2 separate regions of the Homo sapiens genome follow, and region 2 is linked to region 1. Evidence: promoter capture Hi-C in human tissues and cell types (Jung and others, 2019). All regions are on one chromosome and are shown on one strand. The core of a region is centred on a gene start or on the middle of the fragment in contact, and the rest is flanking DNA. Distances in the headings are between cores, read along the strand shown. Region 1 holds the start of UPK3A (uroplakin 3A). Region 2 holds the start of TRMU (tRNA mitochondrial 2-thiouridylase).

Evidence for each region. Contacts are between HindIII fragments. The study calls those that stand out against the background at their distance.
Region 2: the fragment with the promoter of TRMU here is called in contact with the fragment with the promoter of UPK3A in region 1 in 1 of the 25 tissues and cell types used here (aorta).

Annotation. Positions count from the first base shown.
Region 1 is chr22:45,281,930-45,287,865 of GRCh38, reverse strand. It overlaps UPK3A (uroplakin 3A), which reads right to left and starts at 2,917. Exons shown (of 6, transcript NM_006953.4): 1 at 2,801-2,917; 2 at 1,770-1,925; 3 at 415-694. The coding sequence starts at 2,852. RefSeq lists a silencer at 2,787-3,096. The HindIII fragment of the contact is 20,192 bases long and covers 1-5,936 here.
Region 2 is chr22:46,332,943-46,338,878 of GRCh38, reverse strand. It overlaps TRMU (tRNA mitochondrial 2-thiouridylase), which reads right to left and starts at 3,165. Exons shown (of 11, transcript NM_018006.5): 1 at 3,033-3,165; 2 at 935-1,100. The coding sequence starts at 3,114. RefSeq lists a silencer at 2,718-2,767 and enhancers at 2,576-3,075, 2,908-3,127. The HindIII fragment of the contact is 7,028 bases long and covers 1,342-5,936 here.

The DNA.
Region 1 (5,936 bases), core at 1,668-4,167:
ATGATGAAACCCCATCTGTACTAAAAACACAAAAAATTAGCCGGGCATGGTGGTGTGCACCTGTAATCTCAGCTACTCGGGAGGCTGAGGCAAGAGAATCGCTTGAACCTGGGAGGCGGAGGTTGCAGTGAGCTGAGATTGTGTCACTGTACTCCAGCCTGGGAAATGGTGGAGACCCCGTCTCAAAAAATAAATAAATAAATAAAATACAGAATTTCAAGACGGTAGTTGCAGAGCGTCAATCCAAGAGGGGCCTCTTCTGAACTTGAGGCTCAGCGTGGCCTGCCTGGAACCTGGGATGTTCTCAGCATATAAGTTCTCAAGAAGTGTGGCTGCTCCTACTTTGCCCCTGCTCTCCCTCATCAGGACTGGGGAACTGCCGCGGCTCTCCTGTAGTGGTTTGTTTACACCCACCTGTACTCCGTGGCTGCCGACAGGGGTGCGTTACAGAGGCCCTGGAAGTTGGGATCCCACAGGCAGGTCCCGTTGGCACCCACCCTGACCAGGTAGGCATTCAGGATCTGTGAGGCCTTGGACACATCCCCAATGGCATCCAGGCTGGGCAGGTCACTGCAGGGGATCAGGTCAAAGGCCACAGCTTTGTAGGGACCTGTCCTCCCACCCTCTGTTTGTAGGAACGTTGAGCCCAGTGGGGTGTTGGTGCTGTCTTGCACTGAGGCATTCCTGGAAATGGCTGCAGAGGCGGTGCAGGGAGTCAGGCTTCTGGCCACTCCGGCTCAGCGACACTCACTCAGTTATTCATCAAATGCCTGATCATCCTTTCTGCCCCAGCTCTGTGCTGGGCACTGGCATCACAGGCATGGGGCAAACTTAGTCTCTGCCCTCTCAGTGCAATGTGGGAGATGGACAAGGATCACCTCCCTGCTTTGGGCGCTGTGTCTGACTCTCGCCTTATCTTGTGACATTCCTGCAACCCCCCATCCCAACAGACCTTTGTCTCTTCATTGCTGAAAGCCCTGGATTCTCTCTTGTGTAAAATGGGAAAGGAAGGTCATCGGTCCAAGGGAAATAACGTGGAGGCAGGACCCAGCTCTCCTCCTTACTAGATGGGTGACCTTGGACAACTCACTCTACCTCTTCAGACCCTAGTCTTCTATGAAATGGGAGAGAAATTCCCTACAGTGCCCGGAGATCAGGCACTTTAGTTTATAGTCAATAAACACATGCTGAAAGAAGAAAAGGATGGTCCCGAATGAGCTGTTGTAAATGACTGGCTGCTAGAAATGCAAGAGTTGATGTTGGCTTGTCTCAGAAGCTCAGGATCCCCTCCAGGGCAGGGGTTGGGGCTGGGCCACAGCAGCAGGTCCAAATGCATGGTTTTGTCTCAGAAACACCAATCTTGAGCCACCTTTCGAAGCCTCAGGAAGGACCTTGGGCTTGGGGACTAGAGAGATCAGGATTCACTCTCCAGCCCTGGGAGGTCCAGGGGGGGTTATTCCACCTCTCTGAGCCTTGCTTCCCTGCTCTGTAATGGGGATTGGTAATAGCTACCTTACAAGCTGGTTGTAGATACTAGCTCTATGGTGTGCAAAGTGCCTGGTATGGTGTAGGTGTTCAGTGACTGGTGGTGTTATTACTTCCCTCACTAACTGGATGTCCCTGCAAGGCAAGGACAGGTCTGTGGCTGCAGTACCTGTTTAATGAGACGACTACAGGCATGGAGGGTTCCTCTATCTGCCTCCTTCCCTCCTCCCTGCAGACAGGTCAGAGCCCCTTTTGGAGTAGCCAGAGGGAAGCAGGACCCTTACCTGAGTCGACCAGGACATACAGGTAGACCTCGTGGGTGCCAGTGAGGGCCTCTTTGCTGTCAAACATGCAGAGAGGCTTTTCCAAGGCCACAGTGGTAAGTGTGGGGTTGTTGGTGGCGAAAGTCACACTGGCCAGTTGGGGCTGCAGGTTCACAGCTGGAGGAGGCAGTGAGGATGGGAACTGACCTCCGGCAGAACTGTCCACACCCACTCTGCTTGCAGTTACTGAGCACGTGTTGTGTGCCAGGCCCTGGGCTTCACCCTCCCCCTGGGCCACCGCATAAGCTGTCTCAGACACTGCCCCCTGCCCAGTCATCCTGCTCAGAAATGGAGCGGTCGGGCCAAACTGCTGCCTTCTCTCCCTGCTGCAGACACTCAGTTGCCAAGAACTCCACTGCCCCTCCTAAGCATCTCTCCATGCCATCGGCCCAGCCCTCCTCCGTCCCACCTTCCTCACCTGGGCCCTCCCCCCACATGCAAGTCTGACTGCCTCATTCTCTGGCTATGGCCCTCCCATGGTCCCCCAGCGCCCCCTGACGAAGTCCAGCCTCTCTGGAAAGGCAGTGAGGTCCTGAAGTTCTGGGCTTTGCTTTGTTCGGTCTCCAGCCTCACCCCTTCCCCCACAGGCTCCCCTCACCCCAGGCTCCAGCTGGTCCCATGGACTGGCAGTTCCCAGGACAGCCCAATATTGTCTCCCCTCCATGAACTTGCCCATGCTGCTTCCTCGGCCGAAATATCTCTCTATCTGCCCCCGTCCAGGCGTCACCATGGGGCTGGGGCTAGTCCCTTCTCTGTCCTACCGCAGCCCCCCTGCATGTTGGTCTCTTGCAACACACATCGCAGGGCTGCAGCCATCTGTGAGCCCTCGGATTCCCAACAGAGGAGGCCCGTAAACGTTGGCTATCACTATTATTCATAACAGTAATATCTGGGTCCCCAGCGCCAGGAATCAGGGTCCAGGCGGCGGGCGCCCCAGGGCAGAGCTGCCCGCTCTTTCTGGGCTCAGCCCCCTCCTGCCCTTCACCGCCTACCCGAGCCGAACCGCAGGCAGCCGAGGGCCAGCAGGGCCCAGAGCGGAGGCATCGCCCGGGAGGAGCCGCCAGAGCGCGGGGCGGGCGGTCCAGCGAGCAGGCGCGGGCACCAGACCTGTCCCTGCCAGGGCACCTGCCAGCTCTGGGCCCTCGGCGCGCCCCGCCCCCGCCTGGGCTGGCCAATCCGCGGCCTCCTCGCGCGCTATTTGCATACGGCCCTGCCCCGGGCTTCCCCGACCCGTGCGCGGTGCCCCAGGGCGCAATCCCACCGGGCAGGACCTTCTCCAGCCCGCATCAAAGCGCCTACTGTGTGCCCAGGCCAGGGCAGCCCTTCCACAGCGTCTCTCACCAATGGGACCTTGAGGGCAAGCCACTCCCACTTGGAGCCTCAGTTTCCATACTGTAAAATGACGCTAATTTCTACAACTATTTATGGAGGCTCTATTACGTGCCAAACACTCACTGGGCACTCGCGAAACAAAATGGGTTGACCAGTAAAGGTGATATCCTGGAAAACGAAGTCCAGGCCTGGGAGCTATCCAGAGACCCTAGTATGACGCCTAGTATGACCCCTTCGGTTCACAGGTACAAGCCAAGGCCCGGGAGGCTGGGGGGTGGGGCAGGGGGTAAGTATTGGAGCGTGGTGGGGGGCGCGGGGACAGGGACTCACCCCCGGCCGCGCTTGGTCTCCTGGAGACACTGAGGCTGGTGGAACCCAGGAGTCCAGTGCTCAGCCCAGGGCTGCCTCCAAAGGGATGGAGCAGGGTGTTAATGCCTACTTCTTAAAGGGGCGTTTGAAAATTATGATGGACTCCTCACCATGACTGTGCGGTTCCCTCCATCACAAGAATCTGTGCACATCTCTGGATGCACCTTAAATCAATTTTACATTTAAGAAATAAAAGTAAGTCAACAAGGATAGGAAAAAAACAACAGAAGAGGGGCAAGGAGGCTCATGCCTGTAATCCCAACACTTTGGGAGGTCAAGATAGGAGGATCCCTTGAGGCCAGGAGCTAGAGACCATCCTGGGCATCATAGTGAGACCCCATCTCTACCAAAAAAAAAAAAAAAAAAATTAGCTCAGCCTAGTGGGGCATGCCTGTAGTCCCAGGATTGCTTGAGCCCAGGAGGTCGAGGCTACAGTGAACTATGATCATGCCACTTTGAGCTATGATTAAAGCTGCAATAACAGAGCCAGACCCTGTCTCTTAGAAAAAAGATAAAGAAAATCAACAGAAACTAATTAATCTCTGTATGACGTTGATGACATAACCTCACTTGCAGAAAAAGAATAAAACGATCTGAGTAATTATAGAGCTGGGTTGTCCAGGGGTACCTCCTTAGTGGAGTACACTCTAAGAACTGGGAGGCCTGTGACAGAACCCCAAACCTCACTAGTGACTTTGTTATTGGCAGTGGGGAGGGCGGAGCCATTCCGAAGCAACTTTGGGTTATCCTAGGATTGGTGGTACCAGAACCCAGATTCTCACTGTAGGATGAGGGAGATTTGGAATGGAGGAAGGAAGCACATGAGGTCAGTGTGTCCCATTATTGGGGATGTTCCATTTCATCATTTGGTAAAGTTGGTATCTCTGGATTAATGTATGTCTTGTTCCCTAAAAATCTTTTTTTTCTTTTTTTTTTTGGGGGGGACGGAGTCTTGCTCTGTCACCCAGGCTGGAGTGCAGTGGCGTGATCTCGGCTCACTGCAAGCTCCACTTCCCACGTTCACGCCATTCTTCTGCCTCAGCCTCCCGAGTAGCTGGGACTACAGGCACCTGCCACCATGCCTGGCTGATATTTTGTATTGTTTTAGTAGAGACGGGGTTTCGCTGTGTTAGCCAGGATGGTCTCAATCTCCTGACCTTGTGATCCACGCACCTCAGCCTCCCAAAGTGCTGGGATTACAGGCGTGAGCCACCGCGCCCGGCCCTTGATCCCTAAAAATCTTTCCCCAGCTGGATGCGGTGGCTCACGCTTGTAATCCCAGCACTTTGAGAGGCCGAGGTGGGCAGATCATGAGGTCAGGAGTTTGAGACCAGCCTGGCCAACACAGTGAAACCCCTTCTCTACTAAATATACAAAAAAACCCAAAAAACTAGCCAGGCGTGGTGGCAGGCGCCTGTAGTCCCAGCTACTTGGACATCCATGTCCCGCCCAAAAGGTTTAACTTGAATCTCATCAATAGGAAACCATCAGACAGTTCTCAGCCTTTTGTTTTGTTTTGCTTCTGTCTTTCCTGATGTGAACATTTGCAAAGCATCCAGTCCAGCTGGTTTGCAGAAAGTCCCTGCATGTGGATCTGTCTGATGGTTTCCTATTGATGAAATTCAAGTTAAACCTTTTGGGCAGGACATGGTCATGACGGTGAGTTCTAATCAGTGCTACTTGGGAGGCTGAGGCAGGAGAATCTCTTGGACCCAGGAGGTGGAGGTTTCAGTGAGCTGAGATCGCGCCGTGCCACTGTAATCCAGCCTGGGTGACACAGTGAGACTCCGTCTCAAAAAAAAAAAAAAAGCAAGCTGAATGTATGACTTCCATTATTTATTTTGTGCTCAAATGTTCCCAGGCCTGGCTGTTGGCAGCTCCTTCCAGCAGCTCTGTGCTAGCTGCTTTCACGCTCCCACCATTCTTTGAGAACCTCTTTACTTTCTGGCACAATAAAATGTCCCGGGCTCCTCTTGACATTCCCTGTCCCAGCTCTGGATTCAGCCATCTCTCCAAGGGGCACTGGTGCCTTTCACTGGAGACTGGAGTTTAAGATCTAACAGTGGCAAGGTGCCTCTTGCAACTGGGTATTACTGCTTCTCGGTCTGTCTCAATGAACCTAGTTTTTTCTTTTTCTTTCTTTCTTTCTTTCTTTCTTTCTTTCTTTCTTTCTACCTTCCTTCCTTCCTTTCTTTCCTTCCTTCTTTCTTTCTCCTTCCTTCCTTCTTTCTTTCTCCTTCCTTCCTTCCTTTCTTCCTTCCTTCTTTCTTTCTTTCTCCTTCCTTCCTTCCTCTCTTTCTTCTTTCTTTGTCCTTCCTTCTTTCTTTCTTTTTTTTTTTTTTTTTTTTGAGACAGTTTTACTCTATTGCCCAGGCTGGAGTGCAATGGGGTGATCTTGGCTCACTGCAACTTCCACCTCCTGGGTTC
Region 2 (5,936 bases), core at 1,916-4,415, 1.1 Mb before region 1:
TAAAGCCCACTCAGGCAGGGGCAGCCTGTCCCGCGCACATGGCCTGCTGTGTCAGACGCCTTCGACAACTGCCCGACATTCATCACAGTCAGGGCTCACCAGAGGATGAGCCCTACACTCCTTCCACTGCAGGAACAAAAGTCCAGCCAAACTTTACAACGGTCCTGAAATACACAATCAGCATTTCTTCTCCCCTTCACGCTGCTCTCGTTACCCCATTTGGAGTCCCTTCTCTACAACTTTGTTTGCAACCCCTCCTCTCCGGTGAAGCCTTCTTGATTACTCCACACTGCAAGTTTCTCCCTCCTCTGGGTTCAGTGACTGATAGCATCACTGGTACTTCCTGCGTGCCACGCATCACTGTCACCTCTTGTGAAGATAATGTCCTCCCAACTAGACCGCAAACTCCTACAGAGCCAGGTCACAGTGAAGACATCTTAATGTTCCTAGATGTGGCACACGCCTAGCACACAGCACTTAATTATTGAGATTATATTGGATTTTAGAAAAGTTTTTGTTTGTTTCTTGTTTTCAGAGGCACAGGCCATGTATCACCTCTTTCTCAGAAATCCCCTAATCGCTGACCCACATAGCACACAGGCATTGGTGCTCACCTTCCAGGGGAGCCCTCAGCCTTAGCTCCCCTATCCTAACTGGGCAACAGAAACAGCTCAAGGTCCAAGAAAGCATTAAAGAGACTTCAGGCAAGTGGCAAAATGACAGGAGTGAGAGAGCTGGGTGTGCTGTGGGGTCCAGGCCTCGCCTCTAACACAGAGCCCCGAGGGTGGCTGAGGCCTCTTGCAGTCTTCAGCACCACCGTGGAGGGAGAGCGCTGGGCTGCAGCACAGGCGTCGGTCTGGCTGGTTACCGGATCCTTCCACTGCAAGGATCCACAGTGTGAGGAAGCTTCCTTTGTGCTGTGACCCGCACTCACCTGAACACATCATTCCAATACTCCTTTACGTAGGACACTTGATGGAAAGGGATGTCTAAGATCTGGCAAACTCTGTAAGCATCTTCACAGTCTTTGTCGGCAGTACAGACCCCATGTTCATCCAGTGAGTCCCAGTTCTTCATAAACACCCCTGTCACCTGGTAACCTGCGGGCGGGAAGGTCAATTAAAGAGAATACATAAATCAACCTTCGGTAAAACGGCAGTGATTTCTGAGCTCTGAGAAGTTCCCCACACGCTGTGCTCCTGTGCCTCTGTGCCTGGCCTGCCGGGCAGTCCCTGCTTTGCCATGTGGCTTCAGGGATCCGGTTTCCATCTTGGTGCCTGAGTCCCCAAGATTAACGAGGTGGTATTTTCTCATCTTTGTGTCCCCATCTATGTATCAGCACAATACCTAGCAGGAGGGGATCAGCCAGTGTGTGTGGAATACACGAAGGAATAGTCGAAACTCAACAAAATTTTTCAAAGCACCATTCAGTTATCAAAAAAGGAAACTCTTTTCAAAAGTTATTTCTAGTTACTATCTAAGACTTAGATTCTAAGTGATCAGATATAAAGATAATTAAAATTTTCGATATTTTGTAAGAGCTGTACCACCTAGTTTATGACCTATTTTCTACCTTTTCGATTGTAACAAAATATTCACCCAAATATTGGAAAGGCCAACTTTAGCCCTACACCACCTTAGCAAACTACACAGGTGCAGACCCTGTATGAGAAAGCTGGTTCGTTTAGGTAGGCTGAATGTAATGAAAGACAGGGCAAATGACTGCTGAAGAAGGCTTCATATAGTACCCAAAACAACAGAAATTTGATGACAAAGCTTTGTCAAAACTACACCACCACACGCGAAAGACCACCCCTATCCCAGATCAACCAGACTAATGTCTACCTAACAGTCTAAAGCCCCTGGTATAGCATCTTCCATAATCAGGGCTAAACGTGCTCCAGGCTCCTCTCCTTCCATCTCCATCTGGCCAGAACCAGCCCACACTTGCAGGCCTCTGTGATTCTGCTTGCACTGCTGACTGTGCCGGGAGGGCCGCCTCCACCTCCAAGTCTCTGCTTAGTGACATCCTACTCTTCTTTCGACTCAGCTGAGCACCTCCATCTCTAGGATGCTTTCCTCCACTCTCCCTTCCTCACAACTATTTCTGCTTATGGTCCGCCTACCCTTCTCTTTGGCACTTACTGTACCTACCATAATAGCTATGGTTATTAACAATATAAACTAATAGCCACTACTGTTTTCTGCGTACCTCGTATGTGCTGAGCACGTACTCATCAGTATGTACTATGTCATCTAATCCCTCCAGTCACCCCGTGAGGCAGGTGTTAGCCGAATTTTACAGGGGACGGCTTAATTCACTTGCCCAAGGTCAGGAGCCAAAGATGGCGCAAAGCAGAGCTCCACAAACGTGACTCTGTGAATGAGGCCTCCCGCGGGGAGCCACACAGGTGAAGTTAAACAAGTGCTCATTTCAGCGCCGGGCCCGAGGAATGCTAAGCACCCGTGGGGCTCCGTTTAGATGCCGGAAGAAATGCAAATGCTCCTGGAGAAAACTTTGTCCTCCAGCGAGCGGAGAACACAGGAGACGCTGAACAAGCAGACCCGCCGCGCGGCAGTTGTCCAGTCTGCTGAGTGGGGAGGACAAGGACCTCCCACCGGGCGGCCACAGCGTGTGCAGAGGTCAGGCCCCCGGCCCGGCGATCCCAGCTCCCCTCACCAGTGTCCACGGTCTCACAGGTGAATGTGGACGCCGCAGATCCGTGAGAAACCCTTCCCTCCCCACCCCACCCCGGCCCGCCGGCTTCTCACTGTGGGTGGGCGCGCGTGGGTGGAGAGGGGCGCGGAACTGCTCCCAGGTAGTCGGAGCTGCAGTCGCGCACACCTCCGACTACACAGGTGGAGGGCGAGGAGCCTCCGAACCAAAGTCAGAGGACGGGGTATCCTCCTGCCGACCCGCGCGCAACCAGCGGCCCAGGGAGGGAGGAGACGTGCACAACGCCACGACGGACGGGGACAGGTTTCCGGGGACACATTCGCTCGGCGGGGGGCGGGAGCCTCGGACGCCTCACCTCTCCGCCTCAGCAGCAGCGCGGCCACGGCGCTGTCCACGCCGCCGGACAGGGCGCACACGACGTGCCGCAAGGCCTGCATCCGCCAGTCGCCCAACTTCGCCAGCTGCAGCTACCGCCGCTTCCGCGCCTTGCCGGAAGTCCCGCCCCGGCCGTAGGGTCCGCGCTAGTGGCCCGGCCGGAAGCTGCGGCAGCTTACCCGCGTTCCGTCCGGCCTTCCCCTGTCCCGCGGCGGGTTCCCCTGTCTCCGGCCTGCGCTCACCCCTGAGGCTCCACCGACCCGCGGGGCGCCGAGACTCTGTCGGGCCGCGAGGGGCTGGCTTTTTTTTTGAGCCGCCGCCTTGCCCTCCCCACCCGCGCCCCGGCCTCACTGCTCTTCTTCTGCGCTGTAAACCAAAAATAAAATTCTAAGCCCCCCAGCCAGCCATTGGAGGCCTCCTCTCGGCCAAGGGCGTCCTAGAGGGAACCTGAACCGCGAGTTCGGGCTCTGATGGGAAAGGCCGGGTGGGACCCGCCTCACTAGACCCTCCTCCTCCCTTTGGAATTCGGACCAGCATTAACGTCAAAACAGACTTAAGACTGTCTAGGCGGACTCTCCGTAGCAATAGGATACCGACATGACAGATGGCAGGCCCTGAAAGATATCGAAGTATTTTACAGTATTTTAATTTAATTTAATTTTTAATTAATTAAATTTTTTTGAGATGGAGTTTTGCTCTGTCGCAGGCTGGAGTGTAGTGGGCGCGACCTCGGCTCACTGCAACCTTCACCTCCAAGATTCAAGCGATTCTCCTGCCTCAGCCTCCCTAGTAGCTGCGATTACAGGCGCCCGCCACCAAGCCCAGCTAATTTTTGTATTTTTAGTAGAGACGGGGTTTCACCGTATTTGCCAGGCTGGTCTCTCACTCCTGACCTCAAGGGATCCGCCCACCTCAGCCTCCCAAAGTGGCGGGATTACAGGTGTGAGTCACTGCCCCCGGCCCAGAAAATCTTTGAATCCACCTATGACCTGGAAGCCCCACCCCACCTTCGAGTTGTCCCACCTTTCCGGAACCAATGTTACATCTTACATGTATTGATTTATGGCTTATGTCTCCCTAAAACGTACGAAACCAAAAGCTGTAGCACCACCAGTTTGAGCACGTGTTCTCAGGATCTCCTGGGACTATGACATGAATAAATATCTTCAAATCTTTTACAGTTTGACTCCAAGCATACTCAGCACTCAATCCTTAATGTCTGTGAGGTGTGTTGGACAGGGGTTTTGTGTTCTGTCCACTCCTACTCCATGCCCAGAAAAGCCCCTGGCCCAGGGCAGGTGCTTCATAACCTCGCTGAATAAAGGAAGGAGGAGAGAATGGAGGTCATCCCCCAGGGGTGATATTCAAGCTGAGTTCTTCTCTACGAGTTAGCATCTAGACAAGGTCTACCTAAAGCACAGGGAGACTCTGAACGAAAAAGATGTTCATTTGTGAATAGGGCATTGCAATGGGAATATGCATGCCACAATAAGCTATGTGGGTATTCAGGGAAGTAAAGGAAGACAAAGGTTTTTATTTTATTTATTTATTTTTTTGAGACAGTCTCACTTGGTCACTAGGCTGGAGTGCAGTGGCGTGATCTTAGCTCACTGCAACCTCCGCCTCCCGGGTTTAAGCGATTCTCCTGCCTCAGCCTCCGGAGTAGCTGGGATTACAGGCACATGCCACCACACCCAGCTAATTTTTGTATTTTTAGTAGAGACGGCATTTCACCATGTTGGCCAGGATGGTCTTGATCTCCTGACCTTGTGATCCGCCCGCCTCGGCCTCCCAAAGTGCTGGGATTACACGCGTGAGCCACAGTGCCCGGCCTAGGAAGACAAAGGTTTTTAAAGGGAAAATGAGGATCACATCATTGTTTTGAGATAATTCTTTGGCTACAAAGATCAATAACAAGGGTGACAGCACTCCAGGGTTGGACAAGCAGTTGCTGGGCAGATGTCCTTGCAACAGAAGTTTTTTGTTTTTTTTTTTTTTTTGAGGAAGGTTACGATAGCCTTTGTGTAAAGTTGTGGTTTTTGCAGTCTTTTGTGATAGTTGTTATTATTAGGCACATGTGCATGAGAACCCTCCCTTGTGGTATGAACCCAAAGTACCTGAGACAGGTTTCAATTTAGAAAGTTTATTTTGCCAAGGTTAAGGACATGCCAGTGACACAGCCTCAGGATGATGTCCTGAGGATATGTGCCCAAGGTGGTCGAGGCACAGCTTGCTTTGATACATATTAGGGAGACACAGGACATCAATTAATACGTGTAAGATGTACACTGGTTCTGTCTGGAAAGGCGCAACAACTGGGGGTGGTGGGCAGCTCGCAGGTCATAGGTAGATAAGAGATAAACTGTTGCATTCCTTTGGGTCTTTGATCAGCCTTTCACTGAATACACAATCTCCATGTGAGAGGCAGGTAGAGGAACAGTCACTGATGCCTTAGTCTGGCTCAGTGAATCTGCATTTTCACATAAACAATAGGGCAGAGGAAGCAATCAGACATGCATTTGTCTCAGGTGAGCAGAGGACTGATGGTGAGTTGTCCATTGTCTGGCATCTGTGAAGATAAGCTATCAATTTACATTGCCAGGGTGAAATTCAACAGAACTATTTTAGGGTAAAGATCTCGAGGTCCACGAGGAATTTCCAAGAAGAAAAGCAGGAACTACCAACAGGAGAGCCCTGGGGACTGGTGCCAGGAGGAGCTGCAAGACAGGAGGGAGGTCACAGGGCCTGTGGGGAAAAGGATGACCACTTTTTCAGAATAAAGGATCAGGAAAATACCCAACAGGAGGGCAATTTCATCTTGCATTTCCCGGAAGAGATAAGGAAATCCAGTATCTGGGCAGCTGAGTTTGTGCAGATTTAGAGG